Linked DNA regions of Homo sapiens: all the other regions are linked to region 1. The links are contacts of gene promoters, found by promoter capture Hi-C in human tissues and cell types (Jung and others, 2019). All regions are on one chromosome and are shown on one strand. Each heading gives the region's core, a stretch centred on a gene start or on the middle of the fragment in contact. The rest is flanking DNA. Distances are from core to core; before and after follow the strand shown. Region 1 holds the start of MYO18B (myosin XVIIIB). Region 2 overlaps GRK3 (G protein-coupled receptor kinase 3). Region 3 overlaps GRK3 (G protein-coupled receptor kinase 3).

What was found. The method cuts DNA at HindIII sites, captures the fragments that hold promoters and counts their contacts. A contact is called where the count stands out against the background at its distance.
Region 2: a fragment that was not itself captured here is called in contact with the fragment with the promoter of MYO18B in region 1 in 1 of the 25 tissues and cell types used here (dorsolateral prefrontal cortex).
Region 3: a fragment that was not itself captured here is called in contact with the fragment with the promoter of MYO18B in region 1 in 1 of the 25 tissues and cell types used here (spleen).

Annotation. Positions count from the first base shown.
Region 1 is chr22:25,739,760-25,744,703 of GRCh38, forward strand. It overlaps MYO18B (myosin XVIIIB), which reads left to right and starts at 2,429. Exons shown (of 44, transcript NM_032608.7): 1 at 2,429-2,534. The HindIII fragment of the contact is 19,978 bases long and covers 1-4,944 here.
Region 2 is chr22:25,679,314-25,684,257 of GRCh38, forward strand. All of the region lies in intron 9 of GRK3 (G protein-coupled receptor kinase 3), which reads left to right. Among named protein-coding and RNA genes, the nearest start is that of MYO18B, 60 kb to the right of the region's middle. The HindIII fragment of the contact is 4,338 bases long and covers 45-4,382 here.
Region 3 is chr22:25,695,111-25,700,054 of GRCh38, forward strand. GRK3 (G protein-coupled receptor kinase 3) reads left to right here. Exons shown (of 21, transcript NM_005160.4): 13 at 1-104. Among named protein-coding and RNA genes, the nearest start is that of MYO18B, 45 kb to the right of the region's middle. The HindIII fragment of the contact is 3,686 bases long and covers 743-4,428 here.

The DNA.
Region 1 (4,944 bases), core at 1,179-3,678:
ATAGCACCACGATCCACTCTTTCCATGACACCACGCCAACTGGATCAGATGAGCCCAAAGCAGCCGGTTCTCTGGATGCCTTGATAAGAAAGCCTCCACCTTCTCGTCTTTTCCCCCAGCCTGGGGAATGAAGCCTGGAGACTGGACAGTAAATGCTCAGCTGGGTGACAAAATCTTGCTTATAAGGGCTGCCCTAAATCACCGTGTGCTCAAGGTAATACTTGGTCATCTTGTGTAGCAAAAATCCACCCACCACAGGTACCAACAAGGTGAATGGAGCAAACACATGCCATGTTGACTCCTTGGGGAACGGAGGTCCCTTCAAGTCAACGGAACCATCACTGCAGGTCATGGCCTATAGAGAGTCCCAGCCCTGGGCCCAGAGAATCATTTCTGCATGTCAACTCTACCACTTCAGACCAACAGCGTCGGAAAGACAGCAAGGACAGAAAAGCCCAGGAGCCAATGGTTCAGGACTTGTGATGCAAGGGGCGGGAGAAGGGAGGTTCTTGTTTCAATGTCAAATGATCTAGCACAACCTGGAGAAAACAGCTCACCGGGACCTGTCTCCAAACTCTTCCCCTGGTGTGGCCTAAATGTCCCATGCCACTCTCCACTGGGGGCCGCAGGGACCCCTCCTCAACCTCATGTATATTATGTATATTGTATTTTCTTTTTCTTTCTTTTCTTTTCTTTTTTTTTTCAAAATGTAGTTTTGCTCTTGTCGCCCAGGCTGGAGTGCAATGGCGCCATCTCTGCTCACTGCAACCTCTGACTCCTGGGTTCCAGCTATTCTCCTGCCTCAGCCTCCCGAGTTGCTGGGATTACAGGTGCCCGCCACCACGCCCAGCTAATTTTCGTATTTTTAGTAGAGGTGGGGTTTCACCATGTTGGCTAGGCTGGTCTCAAACTCCTGACCTCAAATGATCCACCCGCCTTAGCCTCCCAAAGTGCTGGGATTACAGGTGTGAGCCACCATACCCGGCCTAGACTGCCATTTTCTAAGCAGCCTTCCCTTAGTGTTTCAATGAACTTCTGATTGAATGCTAATTTTCAAGACCTCGGCAGAAGTGAGTACTTTGGGAAAATATTGCTCGATGAGCTCTGGGGAAAGAGGAGCAGCACCACATAGCAATTATTGAAACAATTCTCACAGGAGCAGTATCATGCTGGGCTGATTGCGGTCTTTGGAACCAGAAAGACTTGGATTTGAGTCATGACTCTACCCTTTGCTAGCTGCATGGACCTGCATGGTTTATCCAATTTATTGAAGTCTGTACTTTGCTCCTTTTAGGCAGTGGACAAAGCACTTTTTTTGTTGTTGTTTTTTTGAGATAGAGTCTCTTATCGCCTAGGCTAGAGTGCAGTGGCGTGACCTTAGCTCATTGCAACCTCCGCCTCCTGGGTTCAAGCAATTCTCCTGCCTCAGCCTCCCAAGTAGCTGGGATCACAGACAACCACTACCCCACCCAGCTGATTTTTTTTTTTTTTTTTGAGATGGAGTCTCTCTCTGTCACCCAGGCTGGAGTGCAGTGGCGCGATCTCGGCTTACTGCAAGCTCCGCCTGTAGCTGGGACTACAGGCGCCCACCACCACGCCCGGCTAATTTTGTTTTTGTATTTTTAGTAGAGACGGGGTTTCACTGTGTTAGCCAGGATGGTCTCAATCTCCTGACCTCGTGATATGCCCACCTCGGCTTCCCAAAGTGCCGGGATTACAGACGTGAGCCACCGTGCCAGGCCCAAAGCACTTTTTTATAGCCCCTAGTTTGCTGTTGTGTCTGTTTCCTCTACGGCCCGCACAGCCTGGGTTTGAATTCTGGCTCTCCATGGCCTTGGGCAAGTTGGTTAACTTTTTGTGTCTCAATTTCCCCACTTGTAAAGTGGGGCTGGGGAAAAACCCTACCTCATAGGGAACATTAAGTGAGTTCATGAAAGCCCTCGGTGTGTGGCATGCGATAACCACTACCTAAGCATAAGGTATGTTTACATGCACTGGTTGTTTACCACGACGCACCAGCATTCATTCAAGTTATTTTCTTCCAGAGTCTGCCTGGAATGTAGAACCGGCCAGCTCTCCTCCTCAAACAGTTCCTGCAACCTCTGGTTATCTGTGTGGGCAGAGGCGGGAGTGTGGGTGTGTGGCCCTGCCCTGGGACAGGGATGACGAGAGAGCATGTGCTTGTGTCCAGAGCTGTCCCCTTCCCTGCTCAGGGGCCACCAAATATGTCCATGGTCTCTGCTGCCTGGTCAACGGCCACCCCGGGCTGCCGTCTCCTGGCCAGACCTGGAGCTCACAAGCTAATTTTAGAAATGACTGGTCGACTCAGCTGCTGCTATCACATTGGCCCAGAAGGAGGGTGGGGGGAGGACGGGTCGGGGAGGGGCAGTAAGGGGAAGGGATGTGTGTCGGTGTGTGTGGAGAGGGTGCTCCTTCGCTCCTGCTTTCCCGGCTCGGTGGGGTCCCTTCGCGGCCACCCGGGGAGACGTCTTAGACAGTCGTGGTTCCTGTGATCTGTGTCCTCTTTGCAGAAGGTACTATTGGGCTGGGTTTTAGACGGGCACCTTGCGAGCGGATCGGCGAGTTTTAATTTTCCGGAATGCGCTGCTGGGGGCTGCGGTGGCAGGCCTCCGGTCTTTTGGTCTATTTTAGGCCTTTCTGGTGTTGAGAGCTTCCGAGGCCTGATTCCTTTGCCTGTTGCCCGTGCTGCTCACTTTGAAAACAAGAGTGTTTCGGTGGAAGGATTTGAGAACAAAATGCTGGGGCAAATGGACATTCGTAAGAATCACTCTCCTCAGGCCCCAGCTGTTCGCTAATAATTTTTAAAAATGTGTTTAGAATCATGAGTTAATCTCCACTGTGAATCTTTGCCCGCAGACGTCAGGGTTTATATTTTTCCTCAACTACCAGTAATTTCTGCTTCACTGGTGTTCAGTTATGGTCGGGGAAGAGCCAGGCTTCCCCTTTCGTGTTAACAACGCTGTTGAGTCGAAATGTTAATTTTAATGTTCTTTTTTAAACTGCAAATTAAGCATGTATGAGTGTTGGGGGAAGGGCAATGGAAGTTCATGGCTGAAGGTTTCAATTTCATGCCACCTTCCTTGAGCTCTGTCTGAGGGAAGGTGTCTTATCTGGCACCCCGGATAGCAGGCATTTCTCTGAATGAAGAAGATTCACAGGTCCCAGTGGCCCCATAGTGGGGCAGAAGGGGGCTATGCTTTGACATGGAGCTCTCTCCCAGGAGAGGAGAAGACCTCACCAGCTACAGGCCTCTGGGCTGCTGCCTTCCTGCAGCTTTTCCATGGAGGAGGCCAGGAGTGGGGAGGCCCGGAATGGGGAGCCCAGTCGGCTCCCAGTCGGCTCCAAGCTGTCCAGTCTGGCCTCAACCCGCAAGTGTGGGGATCTGGGCTTCTATCCTGTAGGGCCTGGAATACGACGAGGCTGTTACTTTCACTTTGTGGCTGTCCAAAAAGATGCTGCCTCATTCAGTGCACCAGCTCATGGAGGCTGAGTGTCCCACTAGGGCTTCTAGACTCCAACAAGGATAATGGTGGCCTTGGGTGCTGTATCCATTGCTGACCTAAGTTGTATTCTCCTATGCCTGGGTACCATGTCCAGTGTGTACCTTGGGAGCAGAAAAGAGAGGGGTCTATATACTCTTAGGCTATGGATGAGTTCTAGAAAATAATAGTGGAGAGGAGAGAGAGAAAAGAAGGAAGAGGAGGAGGAGAAGGAGAAGAAGAGAAGGAGGAGGAGGAAAAAAGCAGGAGGAGAAAGAGAAGAAGGAGGAGAAGAATAATAGCAAAGGAAAAGGCCAAAAGAAAAGGCCAAGTGGGTGGAGGAGGGAGGAGAAGGAGGAAGAGGAGGAGGAGAGGGAGTCTCCTGGTCTCCTGGCTTTTGAAGGGCTGCATGTTACCAATCAACAAATATTTGATGTCACCTGCCTCCAGGCCTGGTCACCTTGAATATCCTGGTGTGGGCTCTGTAACCTTGGATGAGTACTCTCCCCAGTCGGAACTTAGTTTCTCCTTCTAAAACCTGAGGGGGTTGGGCTAGACCACCTCTGGGATCTTTCCTAGGATTCAGCATCCAGGAAGGTTTTTCTTGAAGTGACGGTCGTTGACGACCTACCCATCAGACTCATGTGGGGCAGGAGGCGGGGGGCTGTTTTAAAATGCAGATTCCTGGGTTCATCCTAGACCTTTTGAACAGTCTTGGGGGAAGGGGCCCAGAAATCCACAGATTTTAAACCTCACAGGTGGTTCTGGTGCCCACCCAAATTGGAGAAGAGCTTTTCCTTTCACTTGAGCTAACAAAACCACAGAAGGCTGTTGCTCAGCACCTGCCCTGTCAAAACTCATGGAATTTCCATGTTTCACAAACATGGAAAACGTGCACAGCACTTTATTAGGGTCTAACTATCGCAAAGATTTTATTGGGCAGGTGTTCCTCCAGGGGTAAGATCAAGACTTTCTATGGCATTTTGAGGTGGGAATGGAGGGCCCCCAAACTGAGCAGAACCACTTCCAGCTGCCAAAAGATAGGGACCTGGGGCTGTGAGCCTACAAGGCTATGGGGAGATGGCCCTTCACTGGGTCCTGCTAGATACAAACAACTGTCTGAATGGCCCATTTGAAGCACATGGTCAGCTGCTGTGGTGTGTGGCATATCTTTAATATTTAAACAAAGTGGCCGGGCGCGGGGGCTCACGCCTTTAATCCCAGCACTTTGGGAGGCCGAGGTGGGCAGATCACGAGGTCAGGAGATCGAGACCATCCTGGCTAACACGGTGAAACCCCGTCTCTACTAAAAACACAAAAAAAAATTAGCCGGGCGTGGTGGTGGGTGCCTGTAGTCCCAGCTACTTGGGAGGCTGAGGCAGGAGAATGGCATGAACCTGGGAGGTGGAGCTTGCAGTGAGCCGAGATCACGCCATTGCACTCC
Region 2 (4,944 bases), core at 964-3,463, 61 kb before region 1:
TTGGATTACTCACATCCGAATTGTCCTTTTGAGATTGTCCCTAGTCAGCGTTTCACTGGAAGGTGATCTTACCTGCCTCTCACTACCTGCTACTCTGTTTATCAGCCTTTCCATTTCTAGCACCATATTTCTACTTATTGGACACTTTCTTTGTATATTAAGCTATCATTTTTAGCTCAACATGTGTGACCCCACTTTTACCCTACATCTTCTTTACTTACTAAATAGCTGCCCATTCCAATTTCTTTTTCTGTTAATGGTATTACCCAAGATCAAAACCTCAGCTTTTATGTGTCTGTACAGATGCCAGTGTATGTGAAGACACATCCAAAAAACCCGTCCTCTCAGTACCCTGTTACAGCGTGTGTGCACTGGTATGGCTGTGACCTGGTGTTCAGAGTGGGTTAGGGAGTCAGGACAGAGAGGGAGAGGCATGGGGTGAGCGTGGAGGGGCCAGACACTAACTAACTGTGTACCCCACATGTGAATGAAACCGTAGATACTCCAGCCAGGAAGGTTTATATTCAGTGAGAAATGTGCGAGACTTCTAGATCCCATGGCTGGATTTTAAGTAAGGTCTTCACCAAAAGGATCTGAAAAAACCAAATTTTAGTGGGTAATGAAAGAATCCCTTTCAACTGCTGAGCAAGTAACCTGAGACCTAGAGAGGTTAATTTCCTTCCCCAAATCTCTAGACTTTTTGGCCAGTGCTCCTTTTATCATCACTTTATAGGCTGTATGTTTTTTCGTTTGTCACCTGTATTTATTGTATTATGGTTTATATTATTCTGTCATTAAAGTGTTTCTGGAAGAGGTATTTGCTATTGAAGCAAAAGAATAGCATAATGTAGCTAAGTTACAACAAATGGAAACCCCATAGCCATAAATAATTTCTAATTATGTGCCTTGACCTCCCACTGTATGGGCATTAAGCATTTCAAATAAGAGTTGCTTTGTGTGTGTGACCAAGTTTTTAACTGATGAGAATGGAAACCAAGCATCCTGCATACTCTGTTGGAGTCAGTGTGAATGGCATTGGCTTTTAATTTCTATTGGAAATGTCTGTATCCTAAATTTCAAACGTGGATGTGAGTACTGGATGAAGATTTTAAGTGGTTATTAAAATATTAATTTTCAGTGAGTTATCTCAAAGCCTTGGATATTTATTCTCAAGAAAGCCTATAGAAAATAAACGTTTTAATGTTGGAAAAACATAAGTATAGTTTTCATGTAATATTTTTATATTGATTTGACTCAGGTGAGAGGAGATGTGGTTAAGTGGTTGTGTAGTTTCTCACTGGTGTAACCCTAAAAGAGTAAATTAAAAAATTAGGGTTATTTTGGGCTATCACTTTGAACTAATTTAAAAGAATTATTTGTATTTTATTTAGATATCAAAACTGTATGGTATTTTTAAAATTTATAAATGCATAATTTAACAAAAATAATTATAGTAAAGTTATTTGGAATTGTTTTTGCTAATCAGGGGATACTTTCTATAGTTTTTAATAAAACTTAGTTGAAAATACCCTCATTAAGTGAAGCTTTTGATCAGACTGTATCGGCAGGCTTTCCCGTATTGTGGACATGTAACTGAAATGCATTCACTCACCACAGTTTTCTTTTTACTGGAAGGTTTTTTTTTTTTTTTAATCTCAACTTGAGTATTCCTACCCATCTCCCCAAAAGACAGTAGGAAGTACTGTTCCCGGTTTTCTTCTGTAATTCTCAGATGGCAAAAAAGGAAATATGCATGTTGGAGAACCAGCATAAGCGTGTCCACAGCTGTGAAGAGCAGTCAGCAATTCATCCAGTCAGTCATTTAAGTTCCTCAGAAGCGTGACTCATTTATTCCCTGAACCACAGTTGAGGATTTAGGTTGAACCAGGCACTCTGCGGCAAGCTGGGACTGTGGTCCCAGTTCTTAGTTCTCATACAGCTGCATGGAAAGGGAAAAGATGTATTATTCAAATGATGACGGAAATGTATGGACAACTGGGACCTGTGGCAAGAGCTATGGAAGACAGGCACACAGTGCTCGGAAGGCCTTTCGCAGGGTGGAGATGGGGTCAGCGAATGCCTTTCTGAAGTTGGGGGTTACCTGGAGAGGAGCCAGTGCACGTGGCTCCTCTGAGCCCAGGCACGTGAGGTTGGGGGAATCAGATGAGGGGCCAGGGTCTGCGGTGGTGGGGGGAGTCGTGCAAGACAAAGCTGGAGAGAGACATGAAGGCCAGGCCAGACCGTGAAGGGCATCGCCGGCCGATCTTGAGGAGCCTAAATGATCTGACTGCAGTTAGAAACCAAGTGTTTTAACTAGAGAGAGACCATAATCAGCCTTGCAGTTCACAAAGATTGCTCCGGCTGCAGTGTGGAGGATTTTCTTCAACAACGACTTCATGGTCCTGTTTTATCACAGTTTTTTTATGGCGAGTTCCTGCAAAATGTAAGCTATTTTGTTGACTTTTAGTAGGAAATCAAAGTAGACAGTTCCTTGCTCAAGAGTTTTACTTAATGGTCTACTTCTAAAAATCCACTTTTATTCTGACTTGTAATCAAGGCAGGCCGTCTTATCCATAATTATCCTTGGAACTGTATCCCACCCTTCATTAAATTGCCACTTATTTTTTCATATTGGTCAGTATTCGGTTGTGTCCTGGACTCCACATGAAACCCATTATAGTGTCTGTTCAGCACCCCGAGAGGTGAGGGTTGCAGTAACTGATTTCTGTAGAGATAACCACATCTGATTCCTTCACCTGCGTGTTTATTTTACATCGAGTCAAAGATAAATATAGTTGGACTTTAGTTAAAGCATTTATTTGGTAATTAAAACAGCATTTATTTGGTAATGACTAGACAGTAAGAGAAATAATGGAGCTCCATTCTGACTTGTGCAGAGGTGACCGGATGTTTTAAAGGGACAGTGGCCTGTGGAGTGCAATGCGGGCTGGAGCAGAGTCAAGGAAGTGAAGAATTTTACAATGCAGGAAGGGGCATGGTCCATATGGGACCCATCTGGGTTTGCTAACTGGGACTTATCCAAGTTAGACTCCTACCCTCCCATGGAGGCTCGGAGATAGGGGCTCTATCTTTGAGTGTTTGCTGGAACAAATAAAAATTCTTTGGGAAGCCTTGATTTCTCTGAGGCAGTCATTTTAAGGGGGGCTGAGCCTCCTAGGGATGTGGTCTTGAGCTGTTAGCTTTAACAATGCAAATTCTGTTTACAGATTATGTTGAAATTTGAACATTTTCTTTGGAATTTAATAATTTTTTGTGTTCGTTAAGAAACAAGATATAGACAATCTAGGCCATTTTAAAAACTGAATCAGTTTAGTGACAAGTATACACTTTATGTAAAGAATCTAAGTGGATTTCATAGATAAAATAGATCTAAATAGAGCTAATAGATCTAGCATAGCACTGATGAATTTTCATAAGGGAATACACGCATCTCCGGCACCCAGATCAAGAGACGGAAAGTTACCAGTATTCTAGAAATCTCTTTGTGCCTCTCCCAGTCACTAACCCTGCACCCAACTTAACTACTACCCAGATTTCTAACAGCATATTTTAGCTTTGCAAATTGTGTTTGAACTTTATAAATGTGCCCTTCTGTGTTTGGCTTCTCTCACTCCATGTTGCTTACAAGATTCATCTGTGGTGTTGCCCACGGCTGTAACTCCCTCCTGTAGCTGTGCAGCAGAGGTCAGAAAGCCAGGTGTGGCTCAGGCCAAGTCTAGCTTGTTGGCCTTATTTTATAGAGCCCATTACCTAAGAATGGTTTTTACATTTTTAAAGGATTGTAAAGAAAATAAGCAAAGAATAATAGATGACAGAGATTATATGCGGCCTGCAAGGCCTAAAATATTTACTTTTTAGCCCTTTGCAGAAAACATTTGCTGATCCATGATCTATATGGCATTCTAGTGTATAAATATACCATACTATCCATTCTACTGTTGGTAGACATTGGGGTTATTTCCTGGCTTGTGCTATTTTGAATGATGCTGTTTTGAATATTCTTGTCCAGGTATCTTGGTGCACATAAGTACAGATTGCTATTAGATGTCTACCTGGGAGTGAAATCACTATGTCAGAAAGCTTGCAAGTGACACTCAGCCTTGGTAGATATCACCAAATGGGTTGCTAAAGTGGCTGCACCATTCGTTGTACACTTCCAGTGGCCATATATGAAAGTTCTATTCACTGTATATCTTCCCAGCACTCAGTATCGTCAGTGTTTTTCTTTTTAGCTGTTCTCGTGGGTTTAGTGATGGCATATTGTAGTTTTAATTTGCGTTACCTTGGAGACATCGAGGTTGAGCATCTGTTCATTAGTTTGGGGGCTATGTGGTATCCTCTTACGTGAATTGCCTATTTTTTTTCCCCATTTTTCTGGGGGTTGGTTGACTTTTTTAAGTTGATTTTTTAAAGTTCTTTGTATATTATAGATATGAGTCCTTTGTGTATTTATGGGTTGCATATATCTTCTCCCATCCTGTGGCTTGTCTTTTTACTCTGTTAATGGTATCCTCTGATGAATAGAAGTTCTTAATTTTATTTTAGTCTAATTAACATTTTTATTGTTACTGCCTTTTGTGGCCTAAGAAATCTTTACTTACCCTAAGATCATGAAGATATTCTCTTTTGTTTTCTTCTGGAAGCTTTATTGTTTTATCTTTTACACTTAAATCTACATCAGCTGGAAATGGCTGTAGCGTATGGTGTGAGGCAGGGGTCAAGGTTCATATTTTATTGTACAGATATTCAGTTGCTCCAGCACCACTGATTGAATAGACCTTCCTTTCCCCAGGCCCTGTTGTGTCACCTTAATAACAAATCAAGTGACCATTTATGTGTGGGCCTATTTTGGATTCCCTTTTCCATTTCATTGGTCTACTTGTCTGTCCTTGGGCTAATACCACACTGTCTGAATTACTGTTG
Region 3 (4,944 bases), core at 1,336-3,835, 44 kb before region 1:
ACCCATGGGTACATGGCTCCCGAGGTGCTGCAGAAGGGGACGGCCTATGACAGCAGTGCCGACTGGTTCTCCCTGGGCTGCATGCTTTTCAAACTTCTGAGAGGGTGAGTTGAAATGCATCCTTCTAGTGCTGTCCTCATGGCAGCAGGAGCTTGGATGAAAACTGAGAATATGTAGAAATGACTAGACGCTAATGTTATTTTAAATCACACAGTGATCTTTAAGCCATGTGCTAATCTGGAAGACTCTGTCTTAGAAGAGTGAAAGCTGCTTCCCAATAAGCTGCTAGATAAAAGCTTATGGCTTCGTATTTTTATTCTGTACCATGTAGGAATCAGAATTCTTTTAAACCTAAAATTAGACTGCTTCGAATTTTTTTCTTTGATAAGCCACATTGTAGGAATAAGTATTGTTTTGAAATGTAGGTAATTTAAAAAGGTAGAATGATTTTTTCCCTAGAAATTAATTATTCATCATCTTGAGGGTTTACAGATTTTGAGAGTTACAAAAAAAGGATGAAAACCCAAAGTAAACCTATTTTATTTTATTTTGTTTTGTTTTTAGACAAGTTCTCTCTCTGTTGCCTGGCTGCAGTGTAGTCACACAGACATCACACACACAGGCTCACTGTAGCCTCGACCTCCTGGGCTCAAGCAATCCTTCCACCTCAACCTCAGTCTCCTGAGTAGCTGGGACTACAGGCACACACCATCACACCCGGCTAATTTTTTTTTTTTTTTTTTTTGAGACGTCTCGCTCTGTCTCCCAGGCTGGAGTGCAGTGGCACATCTCTGCTCACTGCAAGCTCCGCCTCCCGGGTTCACGCCATTCTCCTGCCTCAGCCTCCTGCGTAGCTGGGACTACAGGCGCCTGCCACCACGCCAGGCTAATTTTTTGTATTTTTTCAGTAGAGACGGGGTTTCATGATGTTAGCCAGGATGGTCTCGATCTCCTGACTGGGTGATCCGCCTGCCTTGGCCTCCCAAAGTGCTGGGATTACAGGTATGAGCCACCGCGTCCGGCCTACACCCAGCTAATTTTTTAATGTTTTTAGAGGTGAGGTCTTGCCATGTTGCCCAGGCTGGTCTCGAACTCCTGGCCTCAAGCCATCCTCCCACCTCAGCCTCCCAAAGTGCTGGGATTAAACGCCTAAGCCACCACACCTAGCCGGTAAACCCATTTTAAAAAGCTTGCGTTTGTTGGGGAAAATGCTGAAATTAATTTGTCTTTTAAAGCTAGTAGTATACTTGGCCCTTGTTCTGAACTACCAAAGATGATGAAATAGAGTAGAAAAGATTATGAGAGGAAAGTACTCTCAAAATATGTTCTCATATTAAACACTTAACAATTATGTTAATGTTGCCATTAATTCTAAGACTTTTAGCCAATTTTAATGGAAAACTTCAGTTAAATTTTTTTATTATTCAGACTCATAAATCATTTTACATTAAAATTTCCTAGTTAAGATTTTCCTTTTAATATTTTCATATGAACACAGTCCCGATAGTTTGCTAAATGTTGCACCTTTCCATCGGAGAGCCTAACTGAGCACCACTGCATCTTACTACATTTAGCACATTCTGGAGAGAGGCTGAATTCTACATTCCCCCAAAACTAGGTTCTGAGCACCCTCTGTTTCGTCAGGACTCTGATAATCCAGTTGCTCTCTACTTTGCATTCACTTGTGATCTAAAATTGTATTATTGCTTAGAAAGTCGGGTTCTGTTATTCCTTAATTGAATTATTGTATTTGTGGAGCCTGGATGGCTTTAATTCATGTCATCAGACTAGCTGACCTAATTAGAGAGTTTATCTAAGCAAACCAGAGAAAGCCATTTCCCCTATGAGATGCTGTTCTCCCCAGTGGAGTCGCTTCTATGCATATGGAGTGCATGAAGACACCCAGGAGATCTTTATTTTGGATCTCTGCTGGAGATGTGGTTGGAGACAGACAGTCCCTACCTACAGAATTTGGAGATGATAAAAAGAAAACTGTGCAACAGCTGAACTGTTGAATGTAAAAATCAGCAGTAAAATCTGACAATCCCAGAAGCCTTGTATTTAGGGCTTTGTGTACTTCTTTGTTTTGTTACTCTAGCTGTTAAAATGGCCATGCATATAGGCTGGGGAGGATTTGCTGTAACACTGCTTCATTTTTTAAAAGACTAGAGGGTTTTGTTCAATAACTCTGTCTGCTCCAACAGTGTGGTTTGTGGCTAATAAAATGAATTCAGTCTTATTTGGCTGTAATTCAGCTTTGGCATACTGAACTGGAAGATATTAATTCCTTTGTGAAGTCCTTGATTGGCCTTGATGGAAGCATTATGTTCAGTGGGGCTCCTGCCGAAAAGAGTCTTGACAGACAGGAAGACATCCTGAGGATGGCCGTGAGGCTGGGAGGGATGGATGAGATAAGTGGAGAGTGGTGAAATAGCTAGAAATGATGGCCTCCGTGGGAAGACTGAAAGAGCTGAGTGCAGAACTTAGGGGAGCGCATGGTTGGCTCCAGCTGCTGGAAGGCCGTCTTGTTGAAGGGATCATATGCATGCTGTGTAACTCCAGAGGGATGCATTTTGAGGAGAAAAAAGATTTCAGTTTAATACAAGAATGTCCAGTCATTTGAGCTACCCAGTGAAGGAGGGTTCTGCCTCATGGATAGCAGGCTCCTTGTCACTGTCTGGTGACCATCGATTGAGCCTGAAATGGAAGGAATCTTTCCAGTGCTTGATAGATAGGATTAGATGAATCTCCCCCACTAGGATTTATTATCTCATGCCATTCCTTCTATTGTTTGTTCAGAAGTCACTCACAGATAGGATATAGCACTGGAGCCAAAGAGCAGGAAACATTTTTGACTTAAGTGATTTAAATTAAATGTGATAAGCATTTACTGCGTACCTGCAATGTACAAGAGACTGCTTGATGCTGTGGGGGAAGGAAAGGAGTAAGGAAGGAAAAAAGGAGAGGGAGGGAGGAAGGGAGGAAGGAGAGGGAGGGAGGAGGGAAGGAAGAAAGGAGGAAGGAGAGGGAGGAAGGAAGGAAGGAAGAAGGGAGAGAGGAAGAGAGGGAGGGAGAAAGAAAGGGAAGGAGGAAGGGAGGGAAGGAAGGAGGAAGGAAGAAGAGGGAAGAAAGGGAGAAAAGGGAAGGAAGGAAGGGAGAGAAAGAAGGAAGGAAGGAAGGAAGCCAACCAGCCAGCCAGGAAGGGAGCCACACAAAATCTTTGAGGGATAGGCAGTCTAGGAGAGTAGCTATTGATATACACACCGGATCAGGAGCTGGCTGAGCTGTGCTAACTTTGACAGTAGCGATGTGCTGCGAGCACAGACATGGCAGAACCAATTCTAACCTGGAAGTGTAGGGTTGACATCATGTGGGAGATGGTCTGTCGGGTAGGCTTTGAAGATAGGTAGGATGACAATACAAAGCCTGGGAGCAGGGGAAATACCAGCTTTCTATGTTTCTTAAGAGGGAAGGAGTGCTGAGGGAGAAGTCTCAGATGGTTGGGTCAGCACTGGGAGGACCTCGGATGCAGTGCTGGGAAGTTTGACCTTTATCCTCCAGGCCCCGAGGCTGAAAGCTTTTCAGCGGAGCAGTGGCAGGGTTGGGTGGCTTTTCAGTAAGATGATTCTGGAAGCAGCCTGGAGCAATGGAGGAACCGAGACAGGAGGCAGGCAGAAGAATGTGAGCAAAAGGCAGTGAGTTTGCGCAGCAGCCCTGGAACCTGACAGGAGCAAATGACATGGCGGCATTGCAGAGTTAGCTTCTGTAACGCTTCAGTGTTTTCGTGGAGTGTGTTTTGTTTTTGTTTTTTTATAGATGGTTGGATATGGAAGGATAGAAGTTAAACATGCTGCAATTTAGATTCAAGATGATTGGGAGAATAACGATGTCATTACTAAAATCAGCGTCTGTAAAATTTCAGTGGTTCACATGAAACTGAAGTGTACGGAGGGCCTTTCAGGAGCAAAACCCTGTGGCGAGGCGGGCAGGAGGTGGGACTGTGTGCAGGAGCCCTCACTGCCTCAGCTGTGAACAAGGGGATAATGCCACCTGTTCTACTTCCTCACAAAGTTGCATGTGGGAGAACCTCAAAAATATGCCTGTCAGCCTCCTGTGCATTTTTCCTGTGTTGTATAGAAGGGAGCCCCTGGCAGCTGTCTTTTCTCAGGCACACGGGGCCTAAGAAATCAACTGAGTGGAGGAGGAGATTGACTAGGCAGGGTCTCTGAGGCACAGGCTTGGGCACAGTCCCCTCTGCATCCTGACACTCCTGGGGCGCCTGTCCTCAACCCTGGGGGACACTGGGCAATGGCTGGAGGCATTCTTGGTCATCATAACTTGGGAAGTGGCTGCTACTGGCATCCCCTAAGTAGAGGCCAAGGATGCTGCTCAACATCCTATGAGGCACAGGACAGCTCCCGCAACACCCCAACAAAGAATCCTTTAGCCCTAAATGTCAACAGTGCCGAGGGTGAGGACCACTGCCCCAGAGCAAATGCCCCTCCCTCCTCCCACAGCTGTGCAGTGAGGTGGAATCAATGGCCACCAAGGAAGGGTCTTTCTATTTTCTTTTCTTTTCTTTTCTTTTCTTTTTTTTTTTTTTTTTGAGACGAAGTCTCGCTCTGTCGCCCAGGCTGGAGTGCAGTGGTGCAATCTCGGCTCACTGCAACCTCTGCCTCACGGATTCACGCCATTCTCCTGCCTCAGCCTTCCAAGTAGCTGGGACTACAGGCGCCCGCCACCACGCCCAGCTAATTTTTTGTATTTTTAGTAGAGACGGGGCATCACTGTGTTAGCCAGGATGGTCCCGATCTCCTGATCCCGTGATCTGCCCGCCTCGGCCTCCCAAAGTGCTGGGATTACAGGCGTGAGCCCCCGCGCCCGGCCGCTCTGTTTTCTGTTTTAATCCTCCTTGCTGTGACCAGCGTGCCCCCTTGCTTCTGC